Linked DNA regions of Homo sapiens: region 1 is linked to region 2. The links are contacts of gene promoters, found by promoter capture Hi-C in blood cells and fetal thymus (Javierre and others, 2016). All regions are on one chromosome and are shown on one strand. The core of a region is centred on a gene start or on the middle of the fragment in contact, and the rest is flanking DNA. Distances in the headings are between cores, read along the strand shown. Region 1 holds the start of STMN2 (stathmin 2). Region 2 holds the start of IL7 (interleukin 7).

Region 1 (6,887 bases), core at 2,962-5,461, 800 kb before region 2:
GCACTTGCACATGTATCTTAGCCACATGAACATACATAATCCTGGCAGGAAGCAAAAATATATTTGCTTTATAACTTAAAATGAACAACTGGAGACAAATTTACCTTTTTGTGGGGGAAAGGGATGAGGGCAATTAGGAGGAAGCAAAGCGAACGCAACAAGGGTTAATCCTTAACCAAGAGCAATCCACGTCCCTTTTGAACAAATGAGAACAAACAAGGCTACTGAATCATTAAATAATAACAACGATTTGAAATGATAATAATACTGATGATGACGATGAGTTTGCAGCCACTAGCCTGCAGCGGAAACCTTTCTGAGGGGTGCAGAAAGCGAGGCGAGATCGCCCCCACCACCCATTCTCAGAACCTTTCTGGACGTGCGAGTGAACTGCGAATTGTGGAAAGCGGGGGTAGCTCAGGACACTGCGCAGAAACCGGTCTCCCCGGCTGCACCGCGGGGGCGAGCGCCCAACTCCGGGGAGGGGAGCGCAGGGCGCGGCGCGGGGCTCTGCAGGGCTGGCTGCGCTCCACACACCCAGTCGCCACGTGCGCCCCCACCCGGCCAGCGGTAGGCGGCTCTGGGCCTCAGCTGGGAGGGGTGGGGCCGAGCCGCGCCCCGCTGGAGGAGCGAGGGTCTCCCTTAGAGAAGCCCCTCGCGGGGTCTCCATTCTGGAAAATCATAGAGAACAGAGGGTGGGCGGGGGGCTTGGGCTGGGGGAAAAAAAGCCCCGAGCTCCGCGGACCGTGGGTGGGCGAGAAGAGACAGCCCTCCCTGAATCCCTGGGAAGGGGGTCACCTCTGCGGTCTCGCGCCCGGGCTGGGTGGGGCCGCGCCTTTGTGTGGCCGGGCGGGGCTCGAGCCAGCTTTTCTGCAGAGCCACCCGCTTGGCTGGGAGGGGCTCGGTGCTGGGGCTGAGAGCCACGCCGGGGGTCTGCGCACATCAAGGGGTGCTCGGGCCGTTGTGGACTGCGGGGCTGAAAAAAGAGGTTCCAGGACTGCATACAGCTCAACTGCCCCTCCCATATTCCTCTTCCCCGCCAGTCTCGGAGCCTGAGGTCTCCCCGGCTCCGCGGGGAGGGTAGGGCAGGGCGGAGCCGCGCAGATGGAGTCCTTTCGGCAGCTTTCCCTGTCTCCGCATCCTGCAACCAAGTCCCGGGGGACACGTGCTTCCAGCTGCCACAGGACCCCAGGCCCCACCCTGCCTTTTCACCCCGGGGCCACTGAGCGCCAGAACCGTGGGCACTCAAGGCACAAGACCAATTGCGGATGAAGGCCCTGAATCCAGAATCTTTTCCGGTCATCCTGTGTCTCCACTGTCTTGTCTCTCTGAGCTTATGAAATTGCCGATATTTGGCACTGTCTGACCCACAAAACGGAAATTTCGCGTGGCTTAACTTAAGACTTTGACCTCTTTTGCTTTATATACGATTTCATGTCATCTCTATTATTATACATACACATGTCTAGGTTCTAGAAGCTTTTCCCGCAAACGATCAAAGGTCTTCAAAGAACCCTTTATCTGTGTCTATGTCTAAACACTCTATGTAATTTGCTTCCGAAAAGAAAAATGTTAACCCACTTTTCCCATCTCTCTTAAAAGCAGAACAATGAGGCCAGCGTGGGGAGGGCGGGGTCAGTGGTCAGGTCTCTCTTGGAAGCCGCGGCGGGGAGTCGGGAGCGGGGAGCGCGGGGCGTGGCGCCGCTGTCCCCGCAGGGTTGGGCTCCTGGGTGTCACGCTGCGCTCCCCACCCGACCCCCTTTCGAATGAAGATGCAGCACCGGGCGGGGGGGCGGGGCTGCGCGGTTCCGCACTGGGTGGGGCTGTCCGCATTGTGCGCCCAGCGCTGCAGGTGCCTCCCCCCGGGACCGCTGGTCCGCACACAAAGAAACCCCACCCCAGCGCCTTCGAAGCCGCTGTCCCTCCACCCCTCCCTGCCGCGCGCTTCCCCGCCCCTGCAGCTGCCCACCCGCGCCCTCCACGCCCTCCGCGACTTCCTCTCTCCTTCCCCTCCCTTGCCCTAAAACAAAGGAGCGGAGGTCCTACCCCCACCCTGTCCCCCGCCGTCTTACCTCCCTGCACCGCACCCCAGGACTAGCGGTTTCTTCGACGAGACAATACCGTAAAATGTGCCCAGTTCTCTCCATCCCCTCCCCCCGTCTCCACCCATCTTTCAAACAGCGGGATGGGACCGCTTTGACTTTGCAATTTTCTTTTTCCTTTCTCCCACCTTCCCTTTACCCCTTTCCTATTTTCTTCTTAAACTAGAGAAGAAATAAAAAAAAAAAAGGTCGTTATAAAGCACTTTCCAAAATGTCCCTTAAGCCCATTTAAGGCAAACAGTTAAGGTAGCTTCCTCCCCTCACGATTGAGTCCTAATTTTAAATATGGAAACAGAATAAATTCTCTACCCATAGGAGGGCAACTTACCCGCTTCTACCTTTTAAAAGAAATTCTTCGCTTTAGATTTCCATAGACCTCTTCTCTGCCCTCCCACCTCCCCCAGAACTGCCCTGTCCTTCCTGGTCCTGTGTTACCATTAACATCTTTTTCTTTATAAAATATCTCTGAATGCTTCTAGAGCTCAAGAGAGGAGGTGAGAGGTGGGCTCCAGGTAGAGCCGACGGAGAACGAGGCGCAGTGCCTTACCCATTGCTGTTTTAGCCATTGTAGGGATGTGCAGACGCTGAGCAGTGGCGAAGGCAAAGGGTCCGGCTACAGCAGCGGAGAGAGCGAGAGAGAAGACTGAATAAGGCACTGAGTCTGCAGAGTGGGACCGTGCTAGAGAAAGAGCAAGAGGCAGGAGCCCATGAATAATTATCACTCAGAAGCTCAAGCAGATTGGCTCCCAAGGTCCCCTGACATGACTCCCGCAGAGTCAGAATCTCCAAGCATTAAATATTGATCGGCCAATGGTGCTGGAGTACAAAGTACCAGAATGCAGTTTGAAATGGAAATCAGTCCTTCCCTGTCGGCTCCCCCCATTTTGGGGGCCTGATAGTACAGTCCAAGTAGAGTGGAGCTTTAAGCCCTGAAGCTTCCTAGGAGCTAAGAACTGGGCTGTGCCTACCTGGGAGCCAGGAGGCTTGACTTTGCTCATACATGTGCCATTGCACAATTCAATGGAAAAGGATTCAGAAGCTTGAGAAGTCCTCACTATATGCAGGCTGTTGGAAAATTCTGTTTAAATACTGTGTTTTCACTTTTTCATATTTTCTTTCACCTTTGGCTCTGTCCTTGGTTCTAGTCTTTCAGGGCTACCCTATGTCTGGCTATGGTGGCAGCTCAGAGCAGACTTGCATTATTGTCCTTTATCTTTTAGCACAGCTGGACTTAGGCGTCTCTAAACTCTTGAAGGTCTCTCAGGAGAGGGAAGCATGGTGTTTTCTTCCCTTGGCACAGAGGAAGGGGCTACCTGGTTGCTTGGGAATAGGGATGGTAATAATGGTCCACCTGGGGACATGGGGGAAGAGGAAGAAAGTTTAACCTCTGGTGCCTGTGTCCTGTCCATTTGTTAACACGGCAGAAAACAGGTTGGCTGGCTGGTTTGGGCATTAAGGAAACCACAGGTGAATGCCATGTTGCCCTGAAGGTGTAGGATTAAGTGGGTCAAAATTTTAGTAACCTTTCCAGGGCTCTAAGGAGAATGCTTTACATGGAAAACTTAGAAGAGATGAAAGGTGTGGTCTGGGTCATTATTTTTCTGAGATCCAGAGAGACTACGTTTATGTAGGCCCAGGAAGGCTGTGTTCAAGTTTCGGATTGAGCAATGTCGTATGTGAGGATCTTTGAGACTAGTTGCAAAAAATGACTTTCATTACAAACAAGGCATTTATTAGTTCCTCCTTCTCACTTAATGGATGCCAGTCATTCATTTGTTCTCTTTCACTTGACTTAAATATGTATTGAGCATTTACCATGTGCACAGCTCTGAAAATGGTGAGAAAAAGTTTAGGAGTTGCTGCATGAAGTTTTTAATTACTGCTAATTTAACTCTTCTGTAACTTTATTGAGCCAGTCTAATTCCATGCAGAAACTGGTTTTAATATTAGAAAAATAGGCAAAGAATTGCTAATTCCGACGTTTGAAAGCCAAAAGAAGAGCACATTGTTGCAATCATGAACAGGTATGAAACCCTGGCAAGTTTTTAATTTCAGAAAAATGAATGTATTTTTTTCTTCTTATTAAAATAGGTTTTTAGCAGCTTTCTGTCCAATCACATTTCAACTTTTTTTTCTATCCTCAGGAACAATACACAGTTTCAAATACATAAAACCAATTGAAAATAGCAGGGCACTCTCCTTGGTGCTGAAATGAATTTCTTCACCTCCTATTAACTTGTAAGACATTTTAACCTCATGGACATTTTGCTGACTGATAGGATGCTACTGGAACTGGAACAGTTTTGACCTGCTGAATCATGGGGAAAATAAAAGATGAAGTGGAGATCAATAAAATTATTTCTTGAACAGGAAGATTAGAAATTATATTTCCTATCTTTGAACAGGTCTGTGACTATGACACAGCAAGAGAGCAATATGGAAGTTGGCAGGGTCTGGAAATAAATAACCATTTTCTCTCTATATATAGGCATTTCCCACTTTAAATGTAACAGTTAATCACCTCTCACTGGAGTAGTTATCACTCATGAGGTGAAGGATCTTCAGCATGTCTGTGTGACTAATATTTTCAAAGTATTTCTCTTCTCCCCACCACACCCTTTCCCCTCAGGCTGTGTGTCATCTCTACACATTCTTCAGCTTCCTTGGAGAACAAGGGCCCTAAGTCATGGCATTAGTTTCTTTAACAACTGCAGTTGGCTGCTGAATGAAATCGATTGCACTTTTGATGACTATGAGGAAAACAAAACACTCATTCTACTGCCCTAAGGGTCACATATGTGACTCTTTTCTATTTCCGATTTTCTAGGTGTTAGCCACCTAACTTCAGTTATGAATGATTTTTAAATAATGTCAAACAGGGAAGAGAGTAGGTCAATATGATTTACCATAGAATAAAAAGATAGTAGGCAAAATTGTCAATCAGCTAAGAAAACACAAATAAATTCAAAGGGCTGTGCCATTATCAAATTGTTTTTTGTTTTCTTTTATCATTACAATATGGTATCATGCATATTCACATGGGAAAGTAAGGGTGAAATATGAACAGAAAAATTATTTCATATTCAATATGTTATTCACTTATTCATTTGTTCAGCTAATTTATTCAACAAATATTTATTTGATGATGTTTCAGGCTTTTGTGATGCCAGCCAAGCTTCTCCTTAATGTCTGAAAAATAGAAAGTGAAGGAAAATATAACACCCATCTCTTTAAGAAAATATTAATTTGGGGGAGTGAATATGATCTTGTGTATTGTGGATCACACTTTGTTGCAAAAATTTGAAAAAATAACCCAAACTGGCACTAATAATAAAAGTGCATTTGCTGTTTCGTCTAACCATATAGATAGAGTTGGCCCTAGAGGTCTGGAGGTGAGATCAGCTTTTCCTGAAGGAAATGGTTTTGATGGGAATGGGTGGACACTCAAAGAATAGGTACTACATTTGCACAGTATAAACTAAGGACAACCAGTATCTGTCGTGTGGGGATTTGGGTAGACTGAAGGGTTATCATGTATGAACTGTCTAAGCCATCATGGATATATAGTAATTTTAAGTACTATGACTATATTTAGTGTTTCCAATACATTTAAACCTTTGAAAGGTAGAGAATGAATAGTGTATATCTTTATACCCTTCCTAGTGGTTGGTTTCATGATTCACGTGGTAGACAGTTAAAAACAATTTGTGAAATAATAAATAATACAGTGTTGAAAATGATTCAAAATGGATGAATCCAGTGAGACCATATTGACACTTCTAACCTCCTTTGCTTAGCTTGTGTTGGGAGCAGGTATTAGGCTGTTTACCAGTGTTTATTTATTTATATCCTGCCCTATTCCCAAAGAACCTAAATGAGTAGAGCTCACAATAGTAGATGGCCCTTGTTAATTTTTGTTATCTTTAACAGCCAGCAGTAAGCTGGAGCTGTGGAAATCACAGACTTGCTAACAGAAATTTTAATTATTGTGGGTTATAGCCTAGTGTGTATTATCTCTGTGAGGAGGCCTGAGGTGTTGATTTCTTTCCAAACCAGAGAGAAGCAGTTGCTTTGGAGGATTAGCTGATGCCATCTAACACAGTCATATGATTTTCTGCTATTCATAATCAAGTGCCTGGGAAAGAATCCTAAAGTAATTATTAAAAGTTAGTGAGATAAGAGAAACATTGTTAAGGTCAAATTAATTGTTTTGATCTGACCTCAGGTGATTACAAAAGAAATGTGAGAGATAAAATCCATTGAATTTTTTTAGATGTTTAGAAATTTAGGATATAAAGTAGTTATAGCTGAAGATATTTAGAGATGCATCTAAAATAATCACACATGAAAAAATAGTTGACTTTTTAACATTTTGATTATTTTGCCATGTTTAAATTCTTATAGATTAATGAAAAATAAAAAGGATCATGTGTCCTTTAATAGAACTGTCTAATATGGTTTATTCAAAAGGAAAGTCATTCCAAGGAGGGAGAGTTGGTGTTCTTTATTAGCAGTGAGCTCTGTATTGCTCAGGAATTTGCCAGTGTGTTAGAGTTATTTCTGAAGTGTGGAACAAACACACTTCATTGTTTTCTTCTTAAATTAGTTATTTAAAAATAAACAATGATTAGTTAATTATTATTATTTTTTCTCTACCTAGGGTTTTCTTTATGTCCAAATGGGACTTGTATGTATTAATAATTAGTATAATTCACCCTGAAGCAAAATGACTTATTGAAATTAGTAAATCCTATTGATAGTTTTATAATTGAACTTTTCTGGAAA
Region 2 (6,136 bases), core at 992-3,491:
CATTGAGTCTATGAGCAAACATAATAGTAACCATTCCATTTCTTTAATCATAAAACATTAGCATTTTAAAAATTTATAAACATTTTATTCTTGTCCATCTATCTTATAAAAAATAATATTCAGTTTATCAAAATATCAAAAGCTAATTTAAGACTTCATTTTGGATTTTTTTCTAAATGGTATTAATTATCTCACAGACAGAAAAAAAAAATCATTACTTGATGTTGTTAGAATGTGCCCATTTCATATAACCCTAACAATTCCCAAAGCTTTATGAATATTCTCTTCAGAAAGATTCTTTATAGTTGGGGGCAGAATCCAGTGTAACATTTACATTGCCTTTCCTGCAGCTCTGAATAACTTCCTTTCATGCTTCCCAAAAGTTCAGATATGTACAACCCTTATTCTACCTGGATTTATGGTGATTGTGATAAAAGGAAGACGGATTTCCTTTTGTGCAAAGTATTGATGGATGCTCTTTTACTTTGTTCCTGGAAAGTTAAAAAAAGAAAAAGGTGCAGGCTATGAACAGTTACATACTTCAATGCTGCTGTCAGGGATTTAAAATAAATAAATAAATAAATAAATAAATAAATAAATAAATAAATCCCCAACCTAGGCGTGTTTCATTATAGAAATCATTTTTAAAACTCACTCCAGTGTCATGTCTGTCCTCCTCCCCACCTCCCACTCTAGGTTCCAGTCAAATGGAAATATGTGGCTTTTCTCACTCCATTCTGTCTCTCTTTTCCATTTGCTTACCCCCTTCGCTTCCTCTTTCATTCTATTTCCTTCTGCTTTCATGAACTTTCTCTTTCACACATATTCACTGATGCATTCCCACTCACCTGTTCTCTCTTACTCTGTCACCCCCCAGTACTTACTGAATGCCAGCCATGGGCTAAAGACCATAGTAAGTGGACGCTGGGCAGGAAGAGAAAGGCCATTGTGGCTGGAGGATAGTGATGTGGTACCACGAAACGTCAGAGAGGGCAGTGGGGCCCAGATCACCAGGGCACTGAGGGCCTGGTACCCAGTGGGAAGTGACCAGAAGGTGGGGCACAAAATAGAATCAGATATCCTGCTGCTCTGAGAAGAATGAAGGGGTTGTGGGCAAAAGTGAAAGCTGGAAGATCCCTTAGACAGTCTCTATAGTCACCTTAGGGTTAATTTTGGAGGTGGGGCAGACAGGACTTGTCTATGGATTTGATGTGGGAAATGAGACCAAAAAAGGAATCAGAGACCCAAGTTTCAGGCTTGAGCAACTCTGTTCTCCCTAGTTCATTGCCATCCTTTTTTTTCCTTTCTCCTTCCCTCCTCTTCCTTGTTCACGCTATAGCAGAATGTGACATACTCCTTACCAGCCCCAAGTTCATTCCTCTTCAAGTGTCAGTTTAGAAGTCACAGACTCCAGGAAACTTTCCTGAAGTCCCCACACTGGGGCAAAGCCACACACGTACTGTCATCTCCCTCCCGGCATCAGTGTGCACATTATTACTTTATTCACAGGAGTTCCAAGCAGGAGTTTCTACAGCCCAAATGCAGCAAGTCTGTGTCTAAGCTCAGTTAGCTAAGTGAAATTTGGAAAGTTACTTAAGGAAGTCTCAGTCCCCACATCTGTAAAGTGCAGATAAGAAAATGGTCTACCTCACACAAAGTTTTGCATGAGATGATATACATAAAATGCTTAGCACAAAACTGGCAGAGAGCAAATGCTAGATAAATGATAGTCGTTATTATTATCGCTGTTGTTACTGGTTTACATTATCCACCTTCATCTAAGCAGGGTTTCTGCAGAATAGCAGAAACCAAACTAATGTAGCAAATAAGCTACATAATTCAAGCCCAGGAAAAAGTTAACATTTCAGTGGCATGCATTCAAGACGAATAGTTTGATTTATTAGCCAATTCAGATAAATGTGCACGTGGAAGTCATAGTTAAATATTATCGTCAGTTTCCACGTCCTGCGTTTAATTTGGGGTTTGATTTTCCAAATACAACACTTACCAGATTAGGTGGACCCACAGGATTATTTTTCCTTGAGGTCTCACCTGAGCAGGTGCATGTACAGCAGACGGAGCAGAAAGAGACTGATTAGAGAGGTTGGAGTGGTAGAGGGCGTGACCCTCTTAATCATTCTTCACTTCCTTTTTTAAAAGACGACTTGGCATCGTCCACCACATCCGCGGCAACGCCTCCTTGGTGTCGTCCGCTTCCAATAACCCAGCTTGCGTCCTGCACACTTGTGGCTTCCGTGCACACATTAACAACTCATGGTTCTAGCTCCCAGTCGCCAAGCGTTGCCAAGGCGTTGAGAGATCATCTGGGAAGTCTTTTACCCAGAATTGCTTTGATTCAGGCCAGCTGGTTTTTCCTGCGGTGATTCGGAAATTCGCGAATTCCTCTGGTCCTCATCCAGGTGCGCGGGAAGCAGGTGCCCAGGAGAGAGGGGATAATGAAGATTCCATGCTGATGATCCCAAAGATTGAACCTGCAGACCAAGCGCAAAGTAGAAACTGAAAGTACACTGCTGGCGGATCCTACGGAAGTTATGGAAAAGGCAAAGCGCAGAGCCACGCCGTAGTGTGTGCCGCCCCCCTTGGGATGGATGAAACTGCAGTCGCGGCGTGGGTAAGAGGAACCAGCTGCAGAGATCACCCTGCCCAACACAGACTCGGCAACTCCGCGGAAGACCAGGGTCCTGGGAGTGACTATGGGCGGTGAGAGCTTGCTCCTGCTCCAGTTGCGGTCATCATGACTACGCCCGCCTCCCGCAGACCATGTTCCATGGTAAGCGCTCTTCTCCCTTGCGCACAAGTTCGCGCGCCCGACGCGCCGGGGCAATCCCAGACGCGCTGGGGGCCCCTGCTCCTAGGCAAGTCCGGGAATAGCCCGGCCTTGCACTTTGGACCTGCGGAGAGCACTGGCTCTCCCATGGGCAGCCAACAGCCGCGCCTGAGTATCCTGGCACATAGCCACTTGAACCTGGGGCGGCTGCTGCCCCTGGCAGGCTGCGAGTAACAGTCCCCAACGCCTGCTTTCTGTCCTGAGAGGGAACGCTGCAGCCTCCGCGCCGCTCAGCGGTGGCAGCCCACAGCCGGTCTCAGAAGCAGCCAAAGGCTCTCTGTCTGGCGCCCTTCCCGTGCTCCTGGCCGCCCCAAGTTACTCACGCAGGCGGCCCGGGTTCGGCGAGTAGCTGGGCTCTTGCAGCTCAGAACTCCCTAGAGAAGTGAAAGCGAAGCTCCCACGGGACGCGCTTTTAAACCCTAGGGGAACAGGTCTCCGGAAAACCCCATTTTTCCCCCCTGAGTAAGACTGGGAGTTTCCGGCAAGGGCTGTACCTTGCGCCTATTGCTGGGAAACCAGTCCTGGGGCTGGCGCTGAGGAAGGCCAGCTTCTGGGTTTTTTTGTTTTTGTTTTTGTTTTTGTTGTTATTTTTTCCTACGGGCGCTTCTTGATGGAGGCAGAATGAAATAGGCGTGACTCTAACTTCCAGACCAGTATTGAGACCTAATATATCTTATTTGTGCAGAATACGGATTTAGAATGGACAGGGACAGAATTCAGGAGGGTTGGATTCGGATGGCAGTCATATATGACCAATGAAAGAGCCAAAAAACTTACTGGAATTAAAAAAGAGGAAAAAGGATTGTGAGGGGAAAAGATCTGCTTAGGAAAATTGGAATGCTTTACAGTAAGTACTTCCTCAAGCAAGAAGACAGCTGGGGGGAGGGTGCGGGAATAGGAAACTGACTGCTCTTTCTTTTGATGGCTACTCCGTTAGATCAAGACTTCTTTCCACTCTCGTGGGTAAAGAATCAAGAATTGACACAACCAAGGAGTGCCAGCTCAGTAACAAAACAAAGATAGAGAGAGCGGAAAGAATAGCCAACGTAATTATGGAGGACTTCTAAGGAATGTCCTCCCGGAGCTTAATACAAAACTAAAAATTGAGCACAACCCTATTTTCCTTGCAATGCCCATAGTTCTGCAGTTTCTTCTTCTGGATCACCCTTGGTTCTAATCCTTGCAACACCTCTGCTCTAAAGTAGAAAGGTAAACTGAGAAAAGGAAGCTAGCGTGTGCATTTTTCAGAAAAAGCCTTTACTTCCTGAAGCACAGTTATATGAATCATGGGCTATAAGTTTTCATTAGCAGACAAAATATTAAAATTCTAATAATAATGATTATAATGCATGGCTTCCTGAAGTTTGTTTCAAGAAATTTCACTAGAAGCTTGTTCCATTAAGAGTGCACATAATGTTACTCTTTACCCTTTGTCTTTGCCATTTCTTTTGAGAGTTGAAGTAGTTGAGGATCTACTATGTGGTCTCCAACTGTCTTATCTGGTTTGGGTAATTTCATCATATTTGAGGACCAAAAAGTTGAATAGCAATAAAAATAGACTCTACTCGGGAGGCTGAGGCAGGAGGATTGCTTGAGCCTGGAAGTCAAGGCTGCCGTGAGCCATGATCTTACCACTGTCCTCCAGCCTAGGCAACAGAGTGATGCCCTGTCTCAAAAAATAATAATAGAGAACTAATATTAGAAACCCTGAACAAGCATAAAGGAGAATTACAAACTGCATCACGTTAGTGTTTGAATATTTTTTTAAAAAATGGAAAAGGCCATTTCATAGAACGAACTTACGTGTCATATTCACACTCATCTATGTGACTTTTTTTTCTGCTTTTAACCCTGACACATAACCTACTGTAACAAGAACAAATATTTAGTCTCTTTTTCTGAAATAAAAGCATATGATGCAGTTTCACAGTTTGGCCAGGAAGTACCTTAGTGAGGTTCATGCACAGGAAGATGGGTTTTTATGCAATCCCCTTGACTACACATATATGGTTATTTTTTAAGGAAGCAATGTAGTTCAGTGCCTAAAAGCTGAGGTTCTAGACTCTTCAATGTGACAGTCTTGGATTTGAATTCCATATCTATATTATGTACAGGAATTTTCTGACTAGGCATGGTGGCTCAAGCCTGTAATCCCAACACTTGGGGAGGCTGAGGTGGGCAGATCACCTTAGGTCAGGAGTTCGAGACCAGGCTGGCCAACATGGTGAAACCTCGTCTCAACTAAAAATACAAAAAAATTTGCCAGGCGTTGTGGTGGGCACCTATAATCCCAGCTACTCAGGAGGCTGAGGGAGGAGAATCACTTGAACCTGGGAGGCTGAGGTTGCAGTGAGCCGTGATCGCACCATTGCACTCCAGCCTAGATGATAGAATGAGACTCCATATCAAAAAAAAAAAAAAGAGAGAGAAAAATACGAAAGGAATTTTCCTACATGACTGTCTTTGTGCCCCAGATTCTCCATCTATAAATGTGAATAACTTGTAGTACTTACCTACTTCTTCATGAAGTGGTTATGGAATTAAATTATCAGTGAAAATAGGTCTATGCAATGGACATTCAGTAAACACTGGTTTTAAAGACTGATAAAGACTGGAGTTGATGGATTGTAGAAAACTATTTATGTTAACTTTGACCCCCATAACTTAAGCAGCTGAGGATTGAATGTATTATTTGGCTTACATTAAAAACCAACAAGAATTTTTAGACAGACCTCCTTCTGGTTTAACCAAATTCCCTACTGAAAACAAATTCTCCAATTTCAGCCTCTTCAGGGGAAGTAAGGGCAATCCCACAAGCCACGCTTGCCTTGCGTTATTCCTATGGTTTATCTTTTCGGTAACCTAATGAAAAGTTCAGGATGGTGGGGAGTGTGGGTGTGACAACAATGCCAAAAGCACTCTCAAACCAGCCATTCTTAATATGTTACTCTCTATGTGATGTAGGAGAAAGGTCTTCAATTATGGACCAAACTACCAAGCTACATCATTAATGGGAGAGCTGGGAACCTATGAGATGTGGGTCCAAGGCCCTAGGTATGTTTGCAGCATTGTCCGTGAGGCAATTTCAGATCTAAAGAGTTTCTGCATTTGGAGGACCAGGTAGATTCTTAGAATAAGGTGTCTGCAAGATGAAAAAGATCATTTAGTCTGAAGTTTTCATTTTAGAAATCAGGTAAGTGACCTTAAGAGATGCTGTGTCATTTACACAGTCACACAAACCATTGTCTTGGCAAGTCAAAAGTCTCAAGTTTTGACTTGACTACTCAG

Evidence for each region. The method cuts DNA at HindIII sites, captures the fragments that hold promoters and counts their contacts. A CHiCAGO score of 5 or more calls a contact.
Region 1: a fragment that was not itself captured here is called in contact with the fragment with the promoter of IL7 in region 2 in 1 of 17 cell types (M1 macrophages); the score reaches 6.5 in M1 macrophages.

The regions. Positions count from the first base shown.
Region 1 is chr8:79,606,977-79,613,863 of GRCh38, reverse strand. It overlaps STMN2 (stathmin 2), which reads right to left and starts at 2,747. Exons shown (of 5, transcript NM_007029.4): 1 at 2,650-2,747. The coding sequence starts at 2,668. RefSeq lists a silencer at 438-497. The HindIII fragment of the contact is 2,136 bases long and covers 3,144-5,279 here.
Region 2 is chr8:78,801,568-78,807,703 of GRCh38, reverse strand. IL7 (interleukin 7) reads left to right here and starts at 2,241. Exons shown (of 6, transcript NM_000880.4): 1 at 2,241-2,791. The coding sequence starts at 2,782. It overlaps MITA1 (metabolism induced tumor activator 1), which reads right to left and starts at 3,232. Exons shown (of 3, transcript XR_002956715.2): 1 at 2,009-3,232. The HindIII fragment of the contact is 3,968 bases long and covers 272-4,239 here.